Regions from separate parts of the Homo sapiens genome. Here all the other regions are linked to region 3. The links are contacts of gene promoters, found by promoter capture Hi-C in blood cells and fetal thymus (Javierre and others, 2016). All regions are on one chromosome and are shown on one strand. The core of a region is centred on a gene start or on the middle of the fragment in contact, and the rest is flanking DNA. Distances in the headings are between cores, read along the strand shown.

Region 1 (2,700 bases), core at 59-2,558, 580 kb after region 3:
AGTTTTATGCCTCTAGTTCCTTAGAGAGGCTTCTCTCTAAGCTTCGGGACATGGATCTCACCTGTGGTAGCAGGTATGTGGAATATGATGAGTTGTCATAGCTCAGTCAGTACAGTATATGCTATGGGATCTGAGATCCGTTTTTAGAAACTCTTCTAAGGACTCTTCCTGCTAGCAGCAACTTTGATTCTGGGTCAGACTGTGTTTTTTTTTTTTTTTTTTTGAGATGGGAGTCTTGCTCTGTCACCAGGCTGGAGTTTAGTGGCGCAATCTCAGCTTACTGCAACCTCCGCTTCCCGGGCTCAAGTGATTCTCCTGCCTCAGCCTCCCAAATAGCTGGGACTACAGGCGCATACCAACACACCCAGCTAATTTTTGTATTTTTATTTTTTTTTTTAGTAGAGACGGAGTTTCACCATGTTGGCCAGGATGGTCTTGATCTCTTGACCTCGTGATCCACCTGCCTCGACCTCCCAAAGTGCTGGGATTACAGGTGTGAGCCACCGTGCCTGGCCAGACTGTATCTTTATTATCCTAATTACTGCTATTGCCTTTTAAGAATCAAAAGTTAAGATACTTCAAAACATGGCCGGATACAGTGGCTCACACCTGTAATCCCAGCACTTTGGGAGGCTGAAGTGGATGGATCACTTGAGGTCAGGAGTTTGAGACCAGCCTGGCCAACATGGTGAAACCCTGTCTCTACTAAAAATATAAAAATTAGCTGAGTGTGGTGGCACACGCCTATAATCCCAGCTACTCAGGAGGCTGAGGCAGAAACGCTTGAACCTGGGAGGTGGAGGTTGCAGTGAGCCAAGATTGTGCCACTGCACTCCAGCCTGGGTGACAGAGCGAGACTTCAAAACAAAACCTAAAAGATAAACTACATTGTGAGGCAGGATACGGGGAAAAGGCTGAGTCTTACAGTCTTGGGCTCGTCCTCTTAGCCCGTCACTTCCTCATTATGTGATATAGGCAAGAAACCTACTTTCATGAGCCTTAAGCTTCTCACCCATAAAATAGAAATATTATAAAGTTCTTGGGTTGTGGTGATGGTGAAATGAGTGACAAGTGTCTGGCAAGATGGTACGGGCTTAACACAGGGCAACTAACTGAGGAACTCTTCTACCTCACCCCCAAAAGACAGTCCAATTTTCCCATTTGCCTCTTTGTCCAGATTTATTCCCAGGTCTTGCAACATATTTGGGTCATAGACTTGAGAATGATGAAAACTGTGGACCCATCCTTACCTTGCATAGCTTCAAAGAGTTCACAGCCCAGAGGAGGACCACTGCTTTGAGAGGCCGTTAATGTCTTTCTCCCTCTGGTGTTTGCCCCAACCCGCCGAAGTAGACGGCCACCCTCTCCCATCTTGCTCACCTTGTTCTACACTTAGACTATTTCTCCCTGGTTCTTTGACTCCTTTGGAGAGACCAGCTCAAAAGATCCAAATCCCTTTTCTCAGCCCAAACCAGGCACCAAGCCTATTCTTTTTATTCCAGGAGTGCTCTACTGAGATGACTCTGCCGTAAGCCCTGTGATGTGTGGAGCTTCTGCTTTGGATGAAATTAGTCTGCTTTAAGCCTGTGTCTCATCAAAGGGCTTCCCTCTCTAAGCTTGGGGAAATGGATCTCACCTGTGTGGCAGGAGTGCTGAGGTGGTGGGTGTGTGGAATGTGGTGAGTTTTAGTAGTTCAGTGCTCCTATACATGACCTGGGATCATTTTAGGGGACATTTGCAGAAATCCTCAGAGGAGAACCTGAGTAAAACCTTTGAAGGAAAGACAGCTGCTGTGGGCTTCAGTGCTGGTAACCCATCTGGAGCCTCCAGTCCTGGGTATGGATCCCTTACCTGCTACTCTGGCACAACCATTTGCTCCATTTGACCTTTCTTTTTCCAAATGCTCCTGCCCCCACAAGCGTTTTTATCTATGGGCTGCAGAGTCTGATGAAAGGAATGCCCTTGCTCTTTTAGTTTGCAGGCAGTCCTCAAAATGCAGGCCTAAGGTAGGCCCAAAAGTCTATGCCAGTTCCAGCTAGCAAAAAAGCAAATACACCTTGACCTTTTGTTGAAATTTTACCTGGTAAAGTTTTTCCATTTCAGAGTCTTTCATCTTTTATTAGGCACCTCCTGCTTAGGGACAGCAAAAAGTTTCCAATTACTGCCAACTCCTAGTGATCGACCTGGAATGTGTTTCAAACAGCTGCTCATGTAGCTATACCCTCTTTCTCCCATTTCATCCTAAGCATTTGCCTCAGAAGCATAAAATCTCTTGAGAGTTGTATCCAGAGTTACCAAGCTCTCAGCTATCAAATCTGCTTCAGTCTCATTTTCTTCTTGTAAATTAGTCATTTGAACCCCCAAACTGACAGAATAGGAGACTAAAGCCCAAAAAGGGGAAGGGCTGGCCTATGGGCAGTTGCACTCTGTAGACCCCAGGCTACTGCTTACCAGCCAAGCATTCTACCTTCTTACGGCTGCAACTGTTAAAGGCTACTTAGGCCTTTCTATTGGATGAAGGAGCATGCAGTTACGTGTATATTCACTGAGCAAAATACTTGATTGTAGAATCCATGAAATTTTTTTTTTTTTAATTTCAAGAAGAGGCCTTCACAGTCTCTCAAGTATGGGATGGCTGTGGACAAATACTGCCAATTCAGCTAACTGCTGCCTGGATGTTGCTTTGAGTTTGATTTTTGC
Region 2 (2,700 bases), core at 12-2,511, 960 kb after region 3:
GACGCTGTGTCTGGGGTGAGAATGTGTCTACACACTGAGGCTGGTGTCTTTGGAAAGAGAGGGCTGGGTTGGGGGTCAGAGCAGCCCATCAGGGAGCTTGTCTGGCACTACTGGGCAGAAGTCTGTGCCCACAGAGGGACTGACGCCCTGCTATGAGAACTGACATTGGAGAGCTGCTCTGCAAGTAGGGAATCTGAGGAGGGCAAGGGAGTTGGGGGGTTCTCAAAGCTCAGGGCTTCCCATGATATCCCCCTGGGATGAAAACAAATGGGTCACACTGCAGTGATGGCCCAAGTCAGTGTGGGTTGGTTGGCACAAGACAGAGCTTCCTGGACCACTAGCTAGGCTGCGTGTCCCACAGTGGGATTCTGGGCAGGGCTGTCTGGCACTCTGGTGCCTAGCACAAGGCATGGCACACAGTAGGTGGGCTCAAGGCCATGACCTATCTCTCTAGGCCCTTCAAACCAGTGCAGTAGCATACCCTTGGTTTTCCAGACATGAGATGCCACAAACACCCGTCCTCACCTTTCTCCCTGAGTCTTGGAGCTTGGAGAGAAGAGGCAGTCACAGGGAATTAATGGGCTTACCATAAGCAGGCTAACAAACACCCTTCCTGAAAGCAGGAGGCCATAACATTTCAGTTGTTGGAGAACTGGGTTTTAGTTCCTATTACAGGTTTCCCTTAATCTCAGGCGCTATTTCTCACACTGACTTGAACTCGATAAGACACTCATAAACCCATCAGCACCCTCTCAAACAGGATTCTGGTGCTTTGTAGTGATAGAAATTAAATTTCTCAAATTCTTGTCAAGCTGGTGTTAGTTTTCTTATGTCAGAAACACACTAATGGAACACATTCCTACTTGGATATTTGCCATTTTTCAAATGATGCCATTGGTGAAAAAAACCCTGTCAAAAGCTCAGTAACCTGCCTGCACATCAATATTTTTGACTGAGCCTCGGAGGGCAAACTCAGGCTCAGGGGCCTGCTTGGGAATGAGGGCAATTTGGAGAGAGCACAGGCCAGGCGCTTAGACACATCTCTCTAACTGCGGCCTCTTCCCACATTATTCTCCTTCTAAATTAATGTGCTTTCCTGAAACAAACCCCTCAGGTGACCTAGGTGCCACCAAAGAAGCTGGGGCATTGGAGTGACAAAGTCTATTGATCTGGTCCCATCCCTGTGACCAGAGTCACACTGTGAAGTTGGCGAGTAGGGGAGGAGCCAAGGGGGAGTGCGCATGCCCAGTGTCTCCTGAACAAACAGGGCAACATCTCCCGGACCTTGTGACTTTGGCTGGTGTTTACAGAGTGAAGCTGCTTTGGCGTATCCTGGTGAGCCGGGCAAGGCGGGTGGGAGGGATGGTGTGCTTTTTGTCTCCTCTGTTCCGTCTACCAGAGATTGTCACTCTGGGATCCTTTCAAATAACTGCTGAATGTTTGTGGATGGGAGGCTGGGGACAGGATGTCTTAAAGCCTTTCATCTTGACATTCCTGTTTAGAGCACCAGGGTGCATCCAGCCTGCACAGGTGGCTCTGTATTAGCCAGACTTGCTCCAAAGCCACACAAGAGAGCACTTGCATCTGTCCCAAATCTCCTGTTTCCTTACGTGTAACCAGATTCAATCTTCCTGCCATTGTCATTCCCTCTTGCTTGCTTCATTTTGGGGATGGCAATAAAATTACTAGTTAATTACCTGCGGGTCAGTGGGTAATTTACTTTTTCAACTGGCCTATGTTGCTTGATGTTGCTTCAACTTTTATTACAGTTTAGTTATCAAGTTCTGCTCTCTGGTGTGAACAAACACCTTTGTAAGCTGCATAAAGGCAGAGACTATATCTGTTTTATTTATGTTGTATCCCCAGCACCTAATACAATGCCTACCACGCAGAAGGGACTTAATAAGCAGTTTTAAGCAAGTGAACTATTAGGCTAGTGCTCAGTCAACAATTATTTATGGAGCTGGTACCAGGAGCCAGGATACAGTGGGAATATACTGGCAAGAAAAACAGGCCCAGTGCTTGCTAACCTGGAGCTCATGGCTTAGCAGAGAAGACAAGTGTTAAGTGGGGAGGGAGAGCAGAGGCCTGAACCTGTCTACAGACCCCAGGTTAAGGGCCCGTGACTCCTGTAAAGCCTGGTTGCCCTCTTTCTTGGTAGAGCCCTCCCTGTGTGCCTGGCAGACCTGTGTCCTGCTATCGAGACATCCTAGTCTGATGTAGTATCCTCCTTGTTTGCAGGAGGGGCCGGCCTGTGCAGGGGCAGGGTTACCTGGGCATCCCTCTAGGCTCTGGGGTTCCATTTAGCCTCCTCTGGCCAATACACCTTTTTAGTTTTGAGAAAACTAAACCTCAATGTGACTGCTGTGTGCAGACGAACAGGAAGTTAGAGCAGAACTCAGTGCCCAGGGGCTGTGAGATCACCATTCTGGGTATCATGGGGTGCCACAGTGTGGCAGGCAGGAGAGGCATCCATCAGAAGGAGCAAAGGGTCCTTGCTGAGGTGGAGAGCACAGGGCCTCCTGGTCAGCAGGAGCATGGCTGTCACAGTGCTGCATACCAGCTCTTCCACCTCCGCTGGTTCCTGTGTGTGGGGTAGCCTTGGTCAGCTTGGCCACTCTATGGGTCTCTCCCACCCTACTGAGTCTACACCCAAAGATGATGGGCATACCTCTGCTCAAGATATTTGCAAAAGGAGAG
Region 3 (2,700 bases), core at 167-2,666:
GGCTCTATTAATAATTTCACTGGATTAATAGGCATAAATCAGAGCTGTCCTAGCACATCAGGATGTATAGTCTTATTACAGGTAGGAAACTGAGGTTCCAAGGGGGTGGGAAGTCCTCCTAAGAGGAGGGGTCAGACTGGAAGCTACACAAAAAGAGGCAGAAATGTCCCTCCGCCTCTTAATCGGAGCCTGGGGAAACAAACACACTCGTGCAAAATCTCCAAAGAGGTGAGCTCTTCACCCTGTCAATTTTATCTGCCTCGTGAACCCCAGGGCTCAGGCTCCAGGCCCGGGCTAGCTCACACAACAGCAGAAGGGCCTTAGGTCTGGGCACTGAGCCAAAAAAAGGGAGGCTGTGGTCCCTGCTTTGGTTACCCTGCCGGGTCTGAGCGCCAAATCGGATCTCCTACTTCTCTCTCCCTCCCTCCCTCTGTTCCTGGACTGGGGGCAGGCCCTTCTGCTAACAGAAAGCCTTCCAGTCGGAGAAAGCTCTGACAGCCTGCCGCGATAAAGGGCCCTGGGGGCGTGAGGAGAGCAAGGGGCTCAAAATCAGAACCCAGCGTGACGACAGTGCCTCCATGACTGTGCTCCCGCAATGCGCAGGCTCCATGTCCTGGCGCCCGCCCGCCCATGGACCCGGCGGGGGCTTCCAGGCTGGGCTCAGCCATTACGCCGGCGTGCGGGGGAGGAAACTCGCCTCCCGGGCACTCGGTTGTCTCCTGCCCCCGCCCCTCCCTCCGATCCGGGCCCATCTCTGACGTAGTGTGACCTTGCTCATCCCTTCCAGGCTGTGGGCCTGTTTTCCCTGTGCAAGATGAGGGTCCTGGCTGTCCTGAGGACGCTGTCCGGGCGCCGCCAGGGGTGACCGAATTCAGCTCTGCTAGGACTGTTGGGAAATGAGCTCCCTGTCGGCGTGTGCCAGCCGCCTGCGCGAGGCGCCACAGGAGAGGGCGCGCTCCTGTCGCTCTGCCGCCCCCAGAAGTTTCCCGGGAACCGACTCCACTGACTCGCCCCTCCGCGCCCCACGCGTGGCAGCCTAAGCTCAGCCTCCAGATTGGAGGAGACCGCGGAGGGAACCCTGCTGGGGTCTGGGCCCGGGGCCACGCGGCCCGAGCAGATCGAGGGCCGACCCCTCCGAGAACTCGCTCTCTGGCCTCGGCTCCTCCCTTGCGCCCGCCCTCCCACGTGGGGCCCAGGTCTGGGAATCAGCGCTCGGGGGTGGCTGGGGACAACCGAGAACGAGCTTCTTCCCCGGCACGCGGGCGGAATGGCTGAGCCCAGCCTGGAAGCCCCCGTCAGGTCCTTGGGGGCGGGCGGGCGCGCGAAGCACAGGGCGGAGACAGCCGGGAGCCCAGCCTCCCGGGCTGGGCCGCCCTCCCCTTCCCCGCGCCCGGCCGGGGATGGGGGTGTGGTCCCAAGTGTACAGTGGCATCAAGCTCAGCGCGAGCTCCCGGGAACGCTCCAACGCCTTCAGCCTGTTTCCCAGGAACGGTCCCCGGCTTCGCGCCCCAATTTCTAACAGCCTGCCTGTCCCCCGGGAACGTTCTAACATCCTTGGGGAGCGCCCCAGCTACAAGACACTGTCCTGAGAACGCTGTCATCACCCGTAGTTGCAAGTTTCGGAGCGGCAGTGGGAAGCATGCGGGACTACGACGAGGTGATCGCCTTCCTGGGCGAGTGGGGGCCCTTCCAGCGCCTCATCTTCTTCCTGCTCAGCGCCAGCATCATCCCCAATGGCTTCAATGGTATGTCAGTCGTGTTCCTGGCGGGGACCCCGGAGCACCGCTGTCGAGTGCCGGACGCCGCGAACCTGAGCAGCGCCTGGCGCAACAACAGTGTCCCGCTGCGGCTGCGGGACGGCCGCGAGGTGCCCCACAGCTGCAGCCGCTACCGGCTCGCCACCATCGCCAACTTCTCGGCGCTCGGGCTGGAGCCGGGGCGCGACGTGGACCTGGGGCAGCTGGAGCAGGAGAGCTGCCTGGATGGCTGGGAGTTCAGCCAGGACGTCTACCTGTCCACCGTCGTGACCGAGGTGGGTGCCAGGCCGAGACCGTTGACCCGGGAGTGCCTGACCCTCCCTCTGCGTCAGCCCCCCTTGAGACTCCCTGCGCAGTGCCCGGGTCAGCGCTCCCCTCCCCCTCAAACCTGCTGTTCATACTTCCAGCAGCGGGTGTGCACCCCAAGAAAGAATAGGACTCACGCGAGGCGCATTCCTGGGTCGTTTCTGTCCAATAAGGAGGTGATGGAGAAAGGAGTTTGTCACCAACTGTCTTTTCATTTCCGATTTTCACAACAAATGAAGTTTCCTAAGAACCTAGATGTTGCGTTGGGGGAAGCGCAGCCCCAGGCTACCCAGACGCACTGCCTGAGTCACCTTCCTGCCAGGCATGGGAGGAGGGGTGTGAGGGACCTTGTTACTGGGCAGGGCGGGGCCAAATCTTGTCTGTTCCCTGGCCACAGACTTCTGGAGGCATCAGGAGGTGTACTGCCGTACCATATACTTGTGAGGTTTGGGGTCCTTTCCTGAGGCCCCAGTTTCTCTAAGACAGCAGATGGCCTCCTGAGGCTCATTGGGTGCAAGGAAGCACAGAAGGCGAAACCCCAGCTGGAAGCCCTGGCCCTCAGGGACCTCTCTGAGCACAGGGTGAGTTGGCAGGCAGGGGCTGTAGCCCCTCAGCACCCTGCGTGGTTAGTGGCAGG
Region 4 (2,700 bases), core at 200-2,699, 730 kb after region 3:
ACTAGCAGACTCTGAGCTACATATAGACATGAAAATGGAGATGGCATGAAATATTTATGAAAAAGAGGCAGATGTCTGGATGTGCAAAGGCTGTTGGAAAAAAAAGCTTTATAAGAAAGGGGTTGCCGCGCGCGGTAGCTCACGCCTGTAATCCCAGCACTTTGGGAGGCCAAGGCGGGCGGATCTCGAGGTCAGGGGATCGAGACCATCCTGGCTAACACGGTGAAACCCCATCTCTACTAAAAATACAAAAAACCAGCCGGGCATGGTGGCGGGCGCCTGTAGTCCCAGCTACTCGGGAGGCTGAGGCAGGGGAACGGCGTGAACCCGGGGGGCGGAGCTTGCAGTGAGCCAAGATTGCACCTCTGCACTCCAGCCTGGGAGACAGAGCAAGACTCCGCCTCAAAAAAAAAAAAAAAAAAAAAAAAAAAAAAGAAAGGGGCATCTGGGGTGACCCTTGCATTATTTGTCAGCTATGAATCTCTTCTGCCACTCTCTCTTGTTCATTAGGCGTAATGGCTATCTTTCAGTTCTGTAAAAAGTAAGTTTCAGGCTCAAAGCAATTATGCCACTATCCGGATGCTCTTTCTCAAAATCCTCGTATGACTGTTCCTTTTTCATCCTTTAAATCTCTGTTCAAATTCCACCTCTTCAGAGATGCCTTTCCAGTCCAACCAACCTAAAGTGGGCCTTTCCCTCTTTCCATCACAACAGCTTACTTCCTTCAAAGCTGTTATCACCAGCTGTATTTACAATTTGTGGTTTATCGACTGTTTCCATCACTAGAATGTAAGCTCTCTGAAAGCAAGGATTTTGTCTTGAACACCTCTATTTATACCCAATGTCTGGCACAGAACGGTAGGAACTAAATAAATTAATATTTATTGAAAGAGAGAATGAGTAGCAAAAGGTGGTAAGATAGCCTGGGAAAGCAATCGGCATTGAAGGCAGGGTGTTCCTAAGGAAGGCGCTAGAATAAGGAAGTAGGAAAAGGCAGCTGGGCTGGACACTGAATAGGAAACTGAAGGTTTACGTCGGCTGGAATAAAGGTGTCGGACCGGGGCTTCAGGGCTCCCCTGTCCACGCGTGGGGTTGGCGGAGGGGCATAAATCACTGAGTGACCAACTGTGGGCGTTCCTTTCAGAGAAACCAAACGCGACAGTTGTCTTCAAACCCCGCTCTGTCCCGTGCCGCAGACTTTACGCGGCTGTCTTCCGCGAAATCGCTAACCCCCGGTCACCAGACTTATCGCCCGGGCCCGAGCCCCCCGGGAGCCAGAAGAGTGTTTGAGAAACGGACATTCTCCGCCGGTCCCAATAGGGGTCCGACACCAGCCCGTTGACGCGCGTTTCCCCGCTCCCAGCCCTCCAGTGGACCCGAACCGGATCCTTACTTACGCTTGTCTCCGGGCTATTAGCCGATGCATGGGAGTCGCCATCTTAGCGCGGTCAAAGCCGGCCGCGCAGGGTTTTGGGAAACTCCTCGGAAGGGCGGGGCTTCCAACCGGGAGGCCGTAGACGTAGGCGGGGCCAGACAGGCTTCTAAGGGGAGGTATCTTAGTGCCGGCTGGTGGGTCGGGAGGGGAGGGGCTGGAGGGTCGGGAGGGGAGGGGCTGGAGGGTCGGGAGGGGAGGGGCTGGAGGGGCTGGAGGGTCGGGACGGGAGGGACTGGTGGGTCGGGAGGGGCCGGTGTCTCCAGTATGGGTCTCGGGTTCTCGGGCCGAACAGGGTTTCAAAGGATGATTACAGGCAAGAACATTATCTGTGGAAAATGAGGACAACATTCTCGAACGAGGGATACACATACAAAGACAAAGAATGAAACTTTGGTGTTCAGAAAACTAGAAGTAGTCTGGAGAATAGAAAGGAATTAGTTGACCAGGATTGAGACCATCAATTGAAAGAATGACTTTAGCAAGCCATGGAGTGCAAACATATACGTTATTTCTGTTTTTTATGTATTTCACAGCGTTGTTACGAGTACTAAATGGGACTGTATAACTAAAGCTGCTTTATCAAGCAGAAAAGGACTATACAAATATTTTAGAATATTTTAGCTGCACCTACATCTAATGTCAGCTCACGGAGCTATTATTCTCTTAAAACCCACGTTCTCTGAAATATATATAATTTTCTGAAGTGTGTGTGTGTTTCTGGGTCATCCATATTTTTTCCTTTTTTTTTTAATTTGAGACAGAGTCTCGCTGTGTCGCCAGGCTGGAGTGCAGTGGCGCGATCTCGGCTCAGTGCAACCTCTGGGTCCCTGGTTCAAGAGATTCTCTTGTCTCACACTCCCGAATAGCTGGGATGACAAGCACGCGCCACCATGCCCAGCTAATTTTTGTATTTTTACTAGAGACAGGGTTTCACCATGTTGGCCAGGATGGTCTCGATCTCCTGACCTCATAATCCGCCCGCCTCGGCCTCCTAAAGTGCTGGGATTACAGGCGTGAGCCACCGCGCCCAGCCATATTTTTTCAATTAATAATTAACACTTAAAATGTTTTAGGAGCTGAGGACAGAGCATTTGAACAAATAAAATCCGTGTACACATGGAACTTTCTACAGACAATGAATGAAGACTATTCTCATGGGCATAAGTACTCTAACGAAAAATATTTCAGAGTAAGGGATTAAAGAGTGATTAGGAGTTAGGGAAGGTGATGATGTGACCTTTGAGCACAACTTGTTCTTCAAAAAA
Region 5 (2,700 bases), core at 199-2,698, 510 kb after region 3:
CCACAAACAAAAAACACCTCATACCTGAGAAGGCAAGGGACTGAAAGGGATGATTAAAGATGGGTAGCAAAGGGCACCAACTGCTGGAGATTCATGAAGCCAGGACACAGCTTTCCAAGTCTCCGTGGACCAGGTCTGTGGCTCCCTACTTAGCAACCAAGCAATAGTCTGAGCAATCAGAGAAGCAGCAGCCTGAAAAATGAACTGCAGAGTCAAAAACTCAGTCTACAGCAGAAACACGTGAGCTGACACTTTCACTCAGATTTAGAAATAAAGTTCTTTTGACCTTAGAGAGAAGTGGGCTTAACAAGCTGCAGGCATGAGAGAGGTCCCCTTTGCTTCCCCTGGGCTGGAAGCAAGAACAAAGCACGATTTGTTCCGGAAGTTGACCGCAAAAGCTTGATATCTGGGCAAAGTCCCTTTACAGCCACTGCTGGGCAGCCCATCCCCCTCAAGTCCCTGGAGCTCCTGCCTCCTGGGACCGGAGGAACTCTTCTTTACAGATGAGATGTATTGGTGAGACACCAGGGGGCAGAGGTGGCAGGCTGCGTTGGATAAACGCAATGGAAGGAGCTGATTTGCACTGCCATGGTAGGGGAGAAGACATTTACAAACATTAAGCATCCGCTACAGCTCTTGGTGGGGCCTAGGCATGGGGTTCAGAGGGTAGTGTGGATTGGAATAAGGAATAGAACAGAACAGAATACAGACCAGGCGTGATGGCTCACGCCTATAATCCCAGCACTTTGGGAGGCCGAGGTGGGCAGATCACCTGAGGTCAGGAGTTTGAGACCAGCCTGAACAACATGGTGAAACCCTGTCTCTACTAAAAACACAAAAATACCATTGGCAGGCATCTGTAATCCCAGCTACTCAGGAGGCTGAAGCAGGAGAATCACTTGAACCCAGGAAGCAGAGGTTGCAGTGAGCCAAGATCGTGCCATCGCACTCCAGCCTAGGGGACAAGAGCGAGACTTTGTCTCAAAAATAATAATATAAATGTAATGTAACATAGCATAAGATTATGAAATTATTTTATTTTATATTTAAATATTGTAGCTTTAAAAATTACAGAGGGCCTCTACCCTGATCTGCTTCATATTTAAGATACTGAGATAAGAACAAATAGCCTTCCTATTTCATTCTCCATGTTCAAGACACATCATGGAATTTTATCCTTGCTATAAATATACATTTTATATTTGATTTTCCTAATGTTGCGGGCAAACTGCTGGGTCACTGGAAGAATTGATTCTCTGGCCTCACTGGCAACAGGGCATCAAAACTGAAAAGCAGCCTGGGGAACTGGATGTCATTAGCATCCTCACTGTAATGTTTGCTCAAACTATAAACTTATCACTTAAAATATTAAAGCAGAGTATGTTCAGAAGCACAAGCATAAATAAAAGTTTAAGTAAGGTATTTGTGAGGAGTTTTTCCCTACTTTATTTATTAAACATTCAGAACATCAATTTTAAATCATCAGTGACCTAACTTTGCATGGTAAATGAGCATAGGCAGGTAGCCTGGGGTTCCAGTTTGAGCTCAGCCAATTGTTAACTGTGACCTTGGCCAAGTTTCCTTATGTAGCTCAGAGCCTGAAGCCTGTTAAGCACTGTCAATAAACGGCTTGTACTAGCAATTCCTGTTCAATCAGTATTTAATCCTTGTCTACTCTTAGCGATCATGAAACCACCATTGCAAAATTATAACTGAGACAGTGAAAGAGATCTGATCTTACTAACTCCATCTTGCTTCTAACCTCCAAGTTGTCCTTGTTCATTCCTGAGCATAGGCCAAATTAACTTTGGGAGAAACTTAGTTTATAGTTTGAAACAAAGATGGTAACAGCCCTTTCCCAAAATGAACTAGACTGCCTTTGTAGAATTAACAAATTAGCCAAAAGATTAGATTATGGTTTAGAAGTCAGGCAGCTGGAGGCTGCAAGATTCTAAACCTCCCCAAATTGCCCCTGGGGATAACGTCACTATTGTGAAGCCTAAGATCAGTTCTTGAGATATTTTGCAGACCCTGTACTTGATGCATCAGCTGGCACCACCCAGGCTCGTAAACTGGCTCATCTGGTCTTGTAGCCCCCACCCAGGAGCTGACTCAATGCAAGAGGACAGCTTCAACTCCCTGTGATTTCATCTCTGACCTGACCGATCAGAACCCCCAATTCACTGGCCCCCCTACCCACCAAATTATCCTTAAAAACTCCAGTCCCTAAATTCTCAGGGAGACTGATTTGAGTAATAATAAAACTCTGGTCTTCTTGCACAGCCAGCTCTGTGTGAATTACTCTTTCTCCATTGCAATTCCCCTGTCTTGATAAATCGGCTCTGTCTAGGCAGTGGGCAAGGTAAATTAATCCATTGGGGGGTTACAATCATAGTCAAAATTAGTTCAAACCACATAAATCAATAATGATCTTTAACAGAGAGTGCTCTCCCTCATCTCTCTTCTTGGAGACAAGAGATGGTAACAAAAGTCCAAGTTGAAGCTTCACTACCTATGAGATCATGGAAATGACTTTTCAAGGAACACAACAATTGGCCCAGAAAAAGGTAGGAAAATAAAATATAAAAAGTAGCTATTGAAATGAAAATTAAAACAAAGGGAATATAACTTTAAAAGTGAAAACAAGACAATATAATGCAAGTTCTGTTTCTGAAGTATCTTTGGCACCCATCCACTGTC

Evidence for each region. Contacts are between HindIII fragments. The CHiCAGO score rates a contact against its expected background, and 5 or more counts as called.
Region 1: a fragment that was not itself captured here is called in contact with the fragment with the promoter of SLC22A4 in region 3 in 1 of 17 cell types (monocytes); the score reaches 5.7 in monocytes.
Region 2: the fragment with the promoter of FSTL4-AS1 here is called in contact with the fragment with the promoter of SLC22A4 in region 3 in 3 of 17 cell types (activated CD4 T cells, monocytes and total CD4 T cells); the score reaches 5.9 in activated CD4 T cells.
Region 4: a contact is called between the fragment with the promoter of ZCCHC10 here and the fragment with the promoter of SLC22A4 in region 3, in 1 of 17 cell types (neutrophils). The highest score is 8.0, in neutrophils.
Region 5: a fragment that was not itself captured here is called in contact with the fragment with the promoter of SLC22A4 in region 3 in 1 of 17 cell types (monocytes); the score reaches 5.3 in monocytes.

The regions. Positions count from the first base shown.
Region 1 is chr5:132,868,929-132,871,628 of GRCh38, forward strand. No RefSeq gene overlaps it. Among named protein-coding and RNA genes, the nearest start is that of LEAP2, 3.4 kb to the right of the region's middle. The HindIII fragment of the contact is 612 bases long and covers 1,003-1,614 here.
Region 2 is chr5:133,255,184-133,257,883 of GRCh38, forward strand. It overlaps FSTL4-AS1 (FSTL4 antisense RNA 1), which reads left to right and starts at 1,262. Exons shown (of 2, transcript XR_007058939.1): 1 at 1,262-1,335. All of the region lies in intron 6 of FSTL4 (follistatin like 4), which reads right to left. The HindIII fragment of the contact is 11,288 bases long and covers 1-2,700 here.
Region 3 is chr5:132,292,978-132,295,677 of GRCh38, forward strand. SLC22A4 (solute carrier family 22 member 4) reads left to right here and starts at 1,417. Exons shown (of 10, transcript NM_003059.3): 1 at 1,417-2,032. The coding sequence starts at 1,640. RefSeq lists enhancers at 390-1,008, 825-874 and silencers at 1,105-1,464, 1,535-1,584. The HindIII fragment of the contact is 9,593 bases long and covers 1-2,700 here.
Region 4 is chr5:133,025,100-133,027,799 of GRCh38, forward strand. ZCCHC10 (zinc finger CCHC-type containing 10) reads right to left here and starts at 1,450. Exons shown (of 5, transcript NM_001300816.3): 1 at 1,398-1,450. The coding sequence starts at 1,438. RefSeq lists an enhancer at 1,210-1,519 and a silencer at 1,600-1,729. The HindIII fragment of the contact is 6,187 bases long and covers 105-2,700 here.
Region 5 is chr5:132,807,042-132,809,741 of GRCh38, forward strand. No RefSeq gene overlaps it. Among named protein-coding and RNA genes, the nearest start is that of SOWAHA, 4.9 kb to the right of the region's middle. RefSeq lists a silencer at 1,436-1,730. The HindIII fragment of the contact is 2,105 bases long and covers 397-2,501 here.